Linked DNA regions of Homo sapiens: region 1 is linked to region 2. The links are contacts of gene promoters, found by promoter capture Hi-C in human tissues and cell types (Jung and others, 2019). All regions are on one chromosome and are shown on one strand. Each heading gives the region's core, a stretch centred on a gene start or on the middle of the fragment in contact. The rest is flanking DNA. Distances are from core to core; before and after follow the strand shown.

Region 1 (5,326 bases), core at 2,423-4,922, 370 kb after region 2:
CCTTGTCCCTGCATTCTCGGTGGTTACAATCTAGCAAGGAAGCTAATTCTGTTATGTGGATAGATCCAACTGAATATTAATAATGATCCTTTCCCTCACTTTTAAAATCAACTGTTTAGAGCACAGTCACAAAATATCTGTTTCTGTCCTAAAGATCTGTCAAGGAGATAAGTGATTAATGTACATCTCATTGATCTTGCCAAATTGCTGCCTGTTAACTTTAACTTTAGAAGTATTCCACAGATGTTAAACAAGTGTTTGTGAGCTATCGCAGCATACTAGTTAGATGGAATGTTGCATGTCAGAAAGTATTTGGAAGATTTGTTACGTTGGGGAGATAGCTTTAAGGGGGATTATCATAATTCTGCCATATTTGACAGCTTTGGGTATATGCTTCGATAGCAGGACTTAATGTTTTCCATGATTTATTTAAAAGAGAACTCTTCTGTATGTGGAATCCTGAAGATTCTATATAGAAGGATCAAAATATCATGCTTTGAGTTACTATTAAGTGTTTTATAGACCCGTGGGGCCAGATTAATCAAAAGAATAATCAGTGGATTATAAAGAAAATCTTACAGATTTCATAAAATCTTCACTATCAATCTTTCCCTCTAGGTTACTAGTTAAATGAATAATGTCTAATGAAGTCCCTATATCAAATTAGACTGCTTAGCACTGTGGCAGTGTAGAGATATTTAACTAAAGGTTACATACGCGCTTGGTTCTGTATATGCTTGGTACTATTACACATGCAGAGACATAAGGCATGGTCTTCTCCCACAAAAATTTGTAATATGGCTTAAGAAATTATAAGCATTTGTGAAAGAATATCTGATGGTATCAGTGTTCAATAAATGGCTAGAGTAGGGAAGTATACCTTTGGCCTGTATGATCAAGATTCATATGAATGAAGAAGAGTGATGGCAGAGCATTCCATGGAAGGAAAGGAGTAGGAGTAGACACACAGAGGAAAAGACTCAAGGCCAGGTGATGGTTTAATAGGGAAATATCTTAAAGGCTGCTTGGAATCAGTCTGGATGGTTTTGAGTCAGGCTTAAGAATTTAGACATCTTCATAACCGGAAAAAATGTAACCACAGGCTTAGATTAGACCAGATGTCAGTTTATTTAACTTTAAATTTACAACTTTGAGCCATTCTGGTAATAGACACTTTTTTTTTTTTATTTTTATTTTTTTTTTTTATTTTTTTTTTTTTGAGACAGTTTCGCTCTTGTTGTGCAGTGGCGCCATCTCGGCTCACTGCAACCTCCACCTTCCGGTTTCAATCAATTCTCCTGCCTCAGCCTCACGAGTAGCTGGGACTACAGGCACGCACCACCACGCCCAGCTAATTTTTTGTATTTTTAGTAGAGATGGGGTTTCACCATGTTGGCCAGGATGGTCTCCATCTCTTGACCTCGTGATCTGCCCACCTTGGCCTTCCGAAGTGCTGGGATTACAGGCGTGAGCCACCGCGCCCGACCTAGACACTTTTTTTAAACGTATTTATTTAGTAGGTTTTTTGGGGAACCGGTGGTGTTTAGTTACATGAATCTTTTTTTTTTTTGAGACGGAGTCTCGCACTCGCCCAGGCTGGAGTGCAGTGGCTCCATCTCGGCTCACTGTAAGCTCCACCTCCCAGGTTCACACCATTCTCCTGCCTCAGCCTCCCAAGTAGCTGGGACTACAGGCACCCGCTACCATGCCTGGCTAATTTTTTTTGTATTTTTAGTAGAGACGGGGTTTCACCATATTAGCCAGGATGGTCTCGATCTCCTGACCTCGTGATCGGCCCGCGTCGGCCTCCCAAAGTGCTGGGATTACAGGCGTGAGCCACCGCGCCCAGCCTACATGAATCTTTAGTAGCAATTTCTGAGGTTTTGGTGCACCCATCACCCGAGCAGTGTGTATATTGTACCCAATGTGCAGTCTTTTATCCCTCACCCCCCTCCTACCCTTTCCCCTGAGTCCCCAAATTCCACTGTATCATTCTTATGCCTTTGCGTCCTCATAGTTTAGCTCTCAGTTATAAGTGAGAGTATAGGATATTTGGGTTGCCATGAGCTGGAGGCAGGGTTAGGCATGTCTGAGCTCAGACTCTTCTTGGGCGGGGCTTGCTGTGGCTGTTGTGGGGGATGAGGGTGTGGCTTCTAGAACAAGGGAGTTACCGTTGCCAGGGGCATTATGGCTGCCTCTGTTGCCCCACGCAGGTCGCCAGGGAAGTGGGGGAAAGCCAGCAGCCGCAGGCCTCACCCAGCTCCCATGCAGCCCACAGCCCGAAAGGCCGGTCTCACTCCACCATGCCCTCTGCCCGTAACAGCACCAACTTTATTTCCAGGCAGCTGGTGAGCAGGGCTGAGAACTTTCCCCAGGCTACCGGCTTCCTAGCTGAGAAAGCAAGCCTACTCACAGTTCCTCTGCGTCCCACAGAGCCTGCAGTGGTGATCCACCTCCTTCAAGGGGTCTGTGGCTCTTGGCTTTCCTGGTATATTCCTACGGTAGTTCTTGGAGCAAAAGTTCACAGTGTGGGTCTCCACGTGCTGCTCTACCCATCCAAGTGGGAGCTGCAAGTTAATCCTGCCTGCTATGTGCCATTTTCTTCTGAGACTAGAGAATATTTTTGAAAAATATTAGCAATAGTTTCTGTATGTTTCTTTTTTCATCACAGGTTCTTTCTTGCAAGATTTTCTTTCTATATGAGTAAATTAAGGTTACATCAGACAAGAACATCTTCTGACTTCTTGTTGTAACATGAGCGGTAGCCAATGGTAAATCTGACAGTGTGAGAAGTATTAAACATTAAATGCTTTAATATACTATGTCATATAGCATAGGTGTAAAATAAAAGACCCAAATACGTAAGAGAGTTGTTGAAAACAACCATTGTGTTGCCTTATAACTGAGAGTTAAAACTTGGATTTCTTGGGGCCAGAATATCTAGACATTAATTATGCATTTTATGTGCATTATTTTTTGTGTACAATTCTGAGTATACTTTTTTAATTTTGTGATAGTAATGTGCAGTATTAAAACACTTTAAAAATTAAAATTTCTGCACTTGTTTTTTTTAAATGGCCAGCCAAAAAAGCTTCCAAATTTCGAGACTGGTTGGACTGCAGCAGTATGGAGATAAAACCCAATGTTGTCGCAATGGAAATCTTAGCATATTTAGCGTATGAAACTGTGGCACAGGTAAGAATTCTAATCTGTCATATCGGGCCACACTGGCTGGTTTTTCTTTATCTCTGCCCATGATCAATTCTTCTTCTCCCTGCTGCTCTACCAGTAATAACAGCCATGAATTCTCTCCTGTGGCATTTACATCATTTTCTAAAATTTAGTTCAGTTATGTGTCTCTGCATCCTCAATTCAAGTGGATGCTAGGATAAAAAAGAGTTCTTGTACCTTTATCTTAATGAGAAATGGAATCCCTGCATGCTTTTTCTTGACATTGAACTCAAATCCACATCTGCCTTGTTTAGAGATTATTTTTGAGCTTTGAAAAACACCTTTCTACGTATGTGAGAATTTAGGAGTACTTACCAAATTCTGGGTCTGGAATCTCGCCCTCTAAAAGACTTTCTCAAGATGTGGTCTTTAGACCACAGGCATCAGCATCTCCTTGGTTCTTGTTTAAAATGCAAATTCTGGCCAGGCGCGGTGGCTCTTGCCTGTAATCCCAACACTTTGGGAGGCCGAGGTGGGTGGATCACCTGCAGTCAGGAGTTCAAGACCAGCTTGGCCAATATGGTGAAACCACATCTCTACTAATAATACCAAAAAAAAGTTAGCCGGGCATGGTGGCGGGCACCTGTAGTCCCAGCTACTCAGGAAGGCTGAGGCAGGAGAATCATTTGAACCTAGGAGGCCGAGGTTGCAGTGAGCTGAGGTCGCACCATTGCACTCCAGCCTGGGCAACAAGAGCGAAACTCCATTTCAAAAATTAATAAAATAAAATAAAATAAGCAAATTCCTAGACTATATGCTTAAAACAGACCTACTGAATTAGAATCTCTGGACTTAAAGCCCAGAAATTTGCACTAGTGACTGTGAAATAAATTTTGAGAACTACTCTCCTAAAAAGTCAGAATATATCATGACTAGGTCCATTCACCAGTCAATGAAAGTGTGTGCTCATGTCTACAATATAGATTTTTAGGCAAGCAGGATTATCAGTAACATTCAGAATGTATTGCTTTTAGGTTTGCCACTTCAGTGGCATTCATGATTATTTCTAGCTATGTGACTTTCATTCTTCTGGTCTTCTAGTTAGTGGATCTGGCTCTTCTTGTGAGGCAAGACATGGTAACCAAGGCAGGGGACCCCTTCAGCCATGCCATTTCTGCAACCTTCATTCAGTATCACAACTCTGCTGAGGTAAGTACAAAAAAAATCTGTCTTAAAACATTTGTGAATTTTGACACATATCTGGTATTTACATTAGTGATTCTTTAATAAAGATTATGCAGGAGTGTATAACCTTCAGTCAAAGAATCTTAATACATTAGACATTCAAATAAGTATTTAATTGAGCACCTACTGTGTGCCAGGCCCTGACAGTCCACTTAAGACAATGACTTTTTTCACGTTTTTCTTGCTTCACTTAGCTTTCCTACCCCTTCATTGAAAGGGATAGTTGCAAGGCATTTCTTATTTTTATGGGAGATGAAAAACTGGTTTAGGTAATGTTGGAAAAGTCATTTATTTCTTTGTGCTTCAAAAGATAAGAGGGTTATCATTATTATTCACAAAATAATCCCTGGCATTTATTGATAACTTTCCATTTCAGTTATTGATTCATCTCTAAAAATGATTTAAAGAAGCTTGTCTTCATTCATCTTGAGTTTTTAGATTGCCCCTACTATGTGAAAATTATATTCTTTTCTGATCTGGCTTTGCTATGGGAACCGTAAAGTTTTCTTTCCAATTTTAAGGCTCTGTATAATAACTGTGCACCACTTTTAGTATACAGAATCTCCTCTGTAAACAGCATCTACCTCAAAACCAGAAATGTATTGCAGTGTCTTGAATGTATTTGCCAATATTCGACCCTTTTCACTAACAAAAACAGCAGTTTCACGTAATTCAATCGAATATCCATAGATAAGACAGCAAGAAGGTTAAGTTCGCATCTACATGTAGAGTTGTGAAGTACGTTTTGGATCAAGTTGGTTGAAATATATAACCTGAAAATGGCTAAGCTCTGTTTTATAGCCATACCTTGATTACACATTTCTACTCCTTGTTAAATATCTATAGGCAAGGATAGTGGTTCAAATCATTTCTAAGAAGTAGTTGTAATCTTCTTTAGGTCACACACCCC
Region 2 (5,018 bases), core at 536-3,035:
AAATACAAAGTACATTTCCTCACCCTGTAAGAGAAACCATTTTTTCTCCCTTCAGGTTTAATTATTTCTGTTTGACCTAAACTGAGACTGATCCTCTAGTAGTATCCAGTTAAAATGTGTGAAGTAGGAGGAGTAAAGGAAACTCCAGTCATTAGTTGTAAGTTAAAAGCAGAGTTAATATAGATGTACACAGCAAGAAGGTTTATTTTAATGGATATAAGAAAAATTTTTGAAAACTTGCCTTGTAGTTGGAACATGTTGGAGATCATAAAGAGAATCTTGTAAGTGTGTTTAGATATTTTGCTATAATAACACATCAGCTGATGAATGTTAAAGTCATTTACATATCTGTATCAACAGTAACTTGAAATTAAATATTAAGGGACAAGATTATGCCTACTTCTTTTAAAGTCCAGCATGGTTTAATAGTTGTGGCTTTTAAAAATCATACAGGGTATCCTTATGGAGCTTTATTTTTCATGAGACTAAACAGCAGTTATTCATTTTGGTAGGTCCAAGAATGTGATTAAAAGAATCTTAGACGTTTCAGTGTTTCAGTGTGTTTATAACAAGGTCTATGGATAACAGTGTGTAGATGTAAAATTAAAATTACATAGAAAAATGCAGTTGCATGTAAGTTTTAAAATACTTCCATGAACTTTTTAATATCCTGGGCAACTATAAAGATCTTTTAAAAATGGCTGTGATGTGCTTATCATAATTTTATTTCAGCTGAATGTATACTTATATAAAGTTGTTTAGAAACAAACTTATTTAGATAGGATACAGTTTGAATTTATAAGTAGATTTCTTTTAGTTGAGCTGGTTAAAATGTTAACTGTACTACAGGTTTATTTCTGTGTTATACATGGTAGACCATAATGTTGAGATAATTCTGTGGTCTGTTATTTTGTAAAATTGCTTCCTTTTTGAAGTTTGCTCAAATATTGGGAGCTGCCGGAGTCAATAATTTATAATGCTTTGATTAATTTAGGATCTGACTTTTCTTCTGGTGAGGGTTAATGAGAGTATTAAACTGTTTCTTTTACTGTTTTCATATCCTCACCTCTATAACTCTAGAAAACATTTTGATCAATGTGAGATAATTTAATTTTGTATATTTCAAGTCATTACTTTGAAAATTAGATACATTACAGATACCAAATGCAAATATATACAGAAATTTCATTTTTCAATTCTTAATGCAACAAGATAGCATAATTAGGATCTTTAATATGCTATTTGGAAAAGCTAGCAGTTTATCAAAGAATCATACCTTTATGTTTAACAGGTTCATATCTTACAGGATTTTAAAAATGGTAACACTTACCCCAAAAGAAGTTTTGCTGACATGGTGTCACTGTGCTGAAGAGGCTGTTTGATGCCATAGTCCCTCCTTTTTTTTTCAGATAGAACTTGTACCCTCTGTTGTAAATACTGCTTGCAGCCTTAAACTGAAAATACAAACCATACCCAAACCTTGTTTTAGTTTTACAGTATGCCTGGAGTACATAGACTTTATATTTATTTTTTTCTGTCAAGAAATTATGTAGCTGGTAACATGTGAAAAGCAAAGAAACAAAACAAAAAGAGAATGAGCAAATATTTGAAGGACCTACTATTACTGCATAGACTGTGGTTAGAGAGCACTCACTGACTCTGTTGGTCTCGGTGGCTGGTAGTGACCTGCGGAGATTAACCATTTAAAAACCAGAGACTTCTTGCTGTCCTCCTGGAGAAAGTTTGCACCGCACTTGTGGTTCTGTGGTTGTTTGTGAGGCGAATGAAGCATTCACACAATCCAAAAAAGCAAAAGCTTTAAAACTCCTTTTTTTTGCAAGCACTATTACTGGAGAGGCAGAATCATGTGGTTTGTGACCTCACAGTACTCTTAAGTAAAGTGGGACTGCCTACCACTGTGGCTTTTCCCCCTTGCTCTTTCTCTCTCTCTCTTTCTCTCACAAAAGGCTTGTGGTAAGGCCTTTCCTGGCATCCAGAAGGATATAGCTTTTTAATTTTTGTGACTCATGAGGATTTGGATAGAATACAAATGCTGAAGGAGCCCAAACTCCTGTAAGGTTAAGCATTTGTAGAGCAGAGCTCTGCAGTTAAGGGCTTTCCTTTCTACTCCCCGCTCAACCTCTGCCTTTTTGCCTCCTCTTTTTAGTTCATTATTGTGTCTGTGGAAAAATGAACAAAATTGGCTCAAGAGTCTGTGTGAAATTCTGAACAACAGTGATGATATACAATAATTCACATCTTTGGACTGTATCACATTCTGGGGTCTGCTTCATATTTGCTGGGTGGCTGGATTCCTTCTGTTTTCCTTTTTCTTGTCTTCTTAAACTTGTGAATCTGTAACTCATTGTAAAAAAAAAAAAAGTTTACCTTAAGGTCTGGTTGCAAACTGCTTGCTAGGCTTGACTATAATTGGCTGTCATGAAAGTGTTAGTCTGGGCATTCTTTTACAAATTTTAAATCACGTCTGTCTAGTTTATTATCAATCTATTAGATGGCGGCCTTTACAATAAAGATTAAATGTAATGTTTCATGTATACCATTATCTCATGCCTAGTTTGAAGATCTTAAAAAAATGAATGACAGGGATTGTAATATAGTTTATTGGATGAATCTTAGTTTTCTTTATGATTGTAATATTTTTTGTCTTTCATTGAAGTGTATTCAGTTTATATAGTTCTTTAAGTAGTTTAGACATTAATAGAGTTTCTGATAGCAGATCTTCTATAAAGTAAAATGCTTATGTTATAATGTAGATTGTTCAGTATTTGATTCTATGAGCTTAGAATAGAGTGGGTTAACAGAAGCTATGTATTTTTTTGTTTCTAATGGAAGCTTTGAAATAAATTACAAAATGCTGTGTGTAGTAAGGAATAATGCCCACAGACAGAGTATGTTAGTCGTCTCGATTTGCTAATTCTGATTCAGAAGAAAATTGGAAACATCTTTGGGAAACTATCTCCTTTTTTGCCCCTTTGGACAAGTATGTATAGAACTCATTTTCTTATTAGGATGATTATATATCATAGGCAGTGAATTTTATATTTATGAATAGAGCTTCCTGTTTTCATCAGTTGGGAGCGATGGAGTATTTTTCAACCAAAATTATAAAGGCGAACAGACCAATTTTCTAGGCATTTTTTTGCCATTTATCCATGCCACTCTAAATCTGCATGTTAGACTTCTTCCTAGTGTGACAGTAACTAGGAGTGGCATAAAGTAAATGGGGTGGGCGGAGACAGTGAATTACAAAAGATTATTTGGAATGTGCAGGGAGGTAAGGGCTAGGGAGACAGGAGGGTGTTAGAACTAAAATATCCCTGTGTTCTTCCTAGTGCTATTCATTATCTGCTTTTGGTTCATATTAGATCACAATAACTGTACAAATATGTTCATAAGTTTCTTTACAGAAAATTTGATTTTCCCAAAATACACTGGTAGGGTATGGGAATGATTCTAGTCCTTTATTTTTCAAATGTCCAGAACCTTTTCAGAATAAACTTTTAGTGATAAAAAACCAGAAATACATTTTGGTGTTTTATTTTAACTATGGATTTATCATGCCTTATTGTATGTGTAAACAGATTTTACATTGAAAGGTAAAAGCGTTCATTTAACATGCAGTTATTCATGTGAAGGAGAGAAAAATTATTTTTTCTCTTTTATAAATAAGTCGTATCCATATTATCTGTATCTCTAATTAGTATCCAAAGTAAACAAAAGGAGGGTTTTGTCCTTATAGCTTGTGGGATTTCCAAACATGGTTTCATGTGTACCTATAATAGCAGAATCACTTAATTGAAAATATGTAGGTAGCTGCTGTAGTATGATCAGCAAATGGTTTTCTTCTTTTCAAATAAGCTTATAGTTTCTACATTAGCATTCACTGAAACATCTTACAAACCCAACATTTTGCTATTTTCTTCCTTAAAATCTTCTTTATGTAAACTTTGGCTCTTCAAATTGACCTGATAAGAATTTAAGTAATTTTTAACATCTATTTGTCATTTAATTACCTGTTCACTTTTTGCAGGTAATCCTCCTGCATGTAATTTTTGGACCAGGATTTGAGAGTTTAGTAGATATTGTTATATATGCACTTTTTGTCCTCTGTGAGGCCTATCAAATTCTAGCAGGAGAAAGATAGTGAAATCATGTGCTTTAAGTTAGTATATTCATTATCCACATGAATTTTTTTCCTAAAACGAAAATATATCCTCTTTGGAGCAAATATTACTTTGTTGTAAAAATTTAAAAAACAATGACAACTGGGGCACATTTGATAATTGGTACACATTTGATAACAGTGTGTTTCATTAGAAATAGCTTACTACACGTGGTGAAGAGATACTGATTTAGAAAAGTCAATGCAAATAAAGCTCTTGATTATAGATTTATACCATGGTTATAATCAGAAATTGAAAACCACAGATTTATTTTTATTTTTATTTTTGCTTTTTAAAGACCCATAAAATTTTATCCTCTCTGGGGACATGTTAGTATTTGCTGTTTTGAAGTAAGCAACAAGTTTAGGTATACTGTATAAATCACATACTTTAATGCCATGGAAATGAAATACAGTTTTGATCTTGAAATCAATTTCAAAGAAAAAAAGTTGTTGGTATCTTGCTTCTCCATTGCTTTGTAGTGAATAAAATGTGTTAGAATTGGTTGAACTTTTGAAAATACCAAGGTATTTGTGTTTAAATGCTATGTGTGTCTTCATTGTAACCATTTGAGTAATTTTTTATTTTCTTAACTAATGATCATATTTTAATACATTAGTTTTACTTTATCAATATTGTGCTCATTTCTATGCATTTTTTTAAGGATTATTTTAGACTTATTTGCTGCTAACTCTATTCTTTTATTTGCTGCTCATTCTTTGAAAAACAAAGGAGAAAATGGTTTGATGCAGGAATTTTTAAACTTTAGAAGTCCTAATTTGGCTTAAAATGTTCTGATTATGAGGTTTTACGAAGGAAGTTTTTAACTTATTG

What was found. The method cuts DNA at HindIII sites, captures the fragments that hold promoters and counts their contacts. A contact is called where the count stands out against the background at its distance.
Region 1: a contact is called between a fragment that was not itself captured here and the fragment with the promoter of RUNX2 in region 2, in 2 of the 25 tissues and cell types used here (mesenchymal stem cells and spleen).

Annotation. Positions count from the first base shown.
Region 1 is chr6:44,952,364-44,957,689 of GRCh38, reverse strand. SUPT3H (SPT3 homolog, SAGA and STAGA complex component) reads left to right here. Exons shown (of 11, transcript NM_003599.4): 8 at 3,083-3,195; 9 at 4,273-4,380. Among named protein-coding and RNA genes, the nearest start is that of MIR586, 240 kb to the left of the region's middle. The HindIII fragment of the contact is 5,370 bases long and covers 988-5,326 here.
Region 2 is chr6:45,325,097-45,330,114 of GRCh38, reverse strand. It overlaps RUNX2 (RUNX family transcription factor 2), which reads right to left and starts at 1,785. Exons shown (of 9, transcript NM_001024630.4): 1 at 1,655-1,785; 2 at 1,331-1,454. The coding sequence starts at 1,388. The region is part of intron 2 of SUPT3H (SPT3 homolog, SAGA and STAGA complex component); the gene reads left to right. RefSeq lists an enhancer at 2,016-2,056, a promoter at 1,463-2,103 and a cis regulatory region at 3,061-3,067. The HindIII fragment of the contact is 4,056 bases long and covers 1-3,366 here.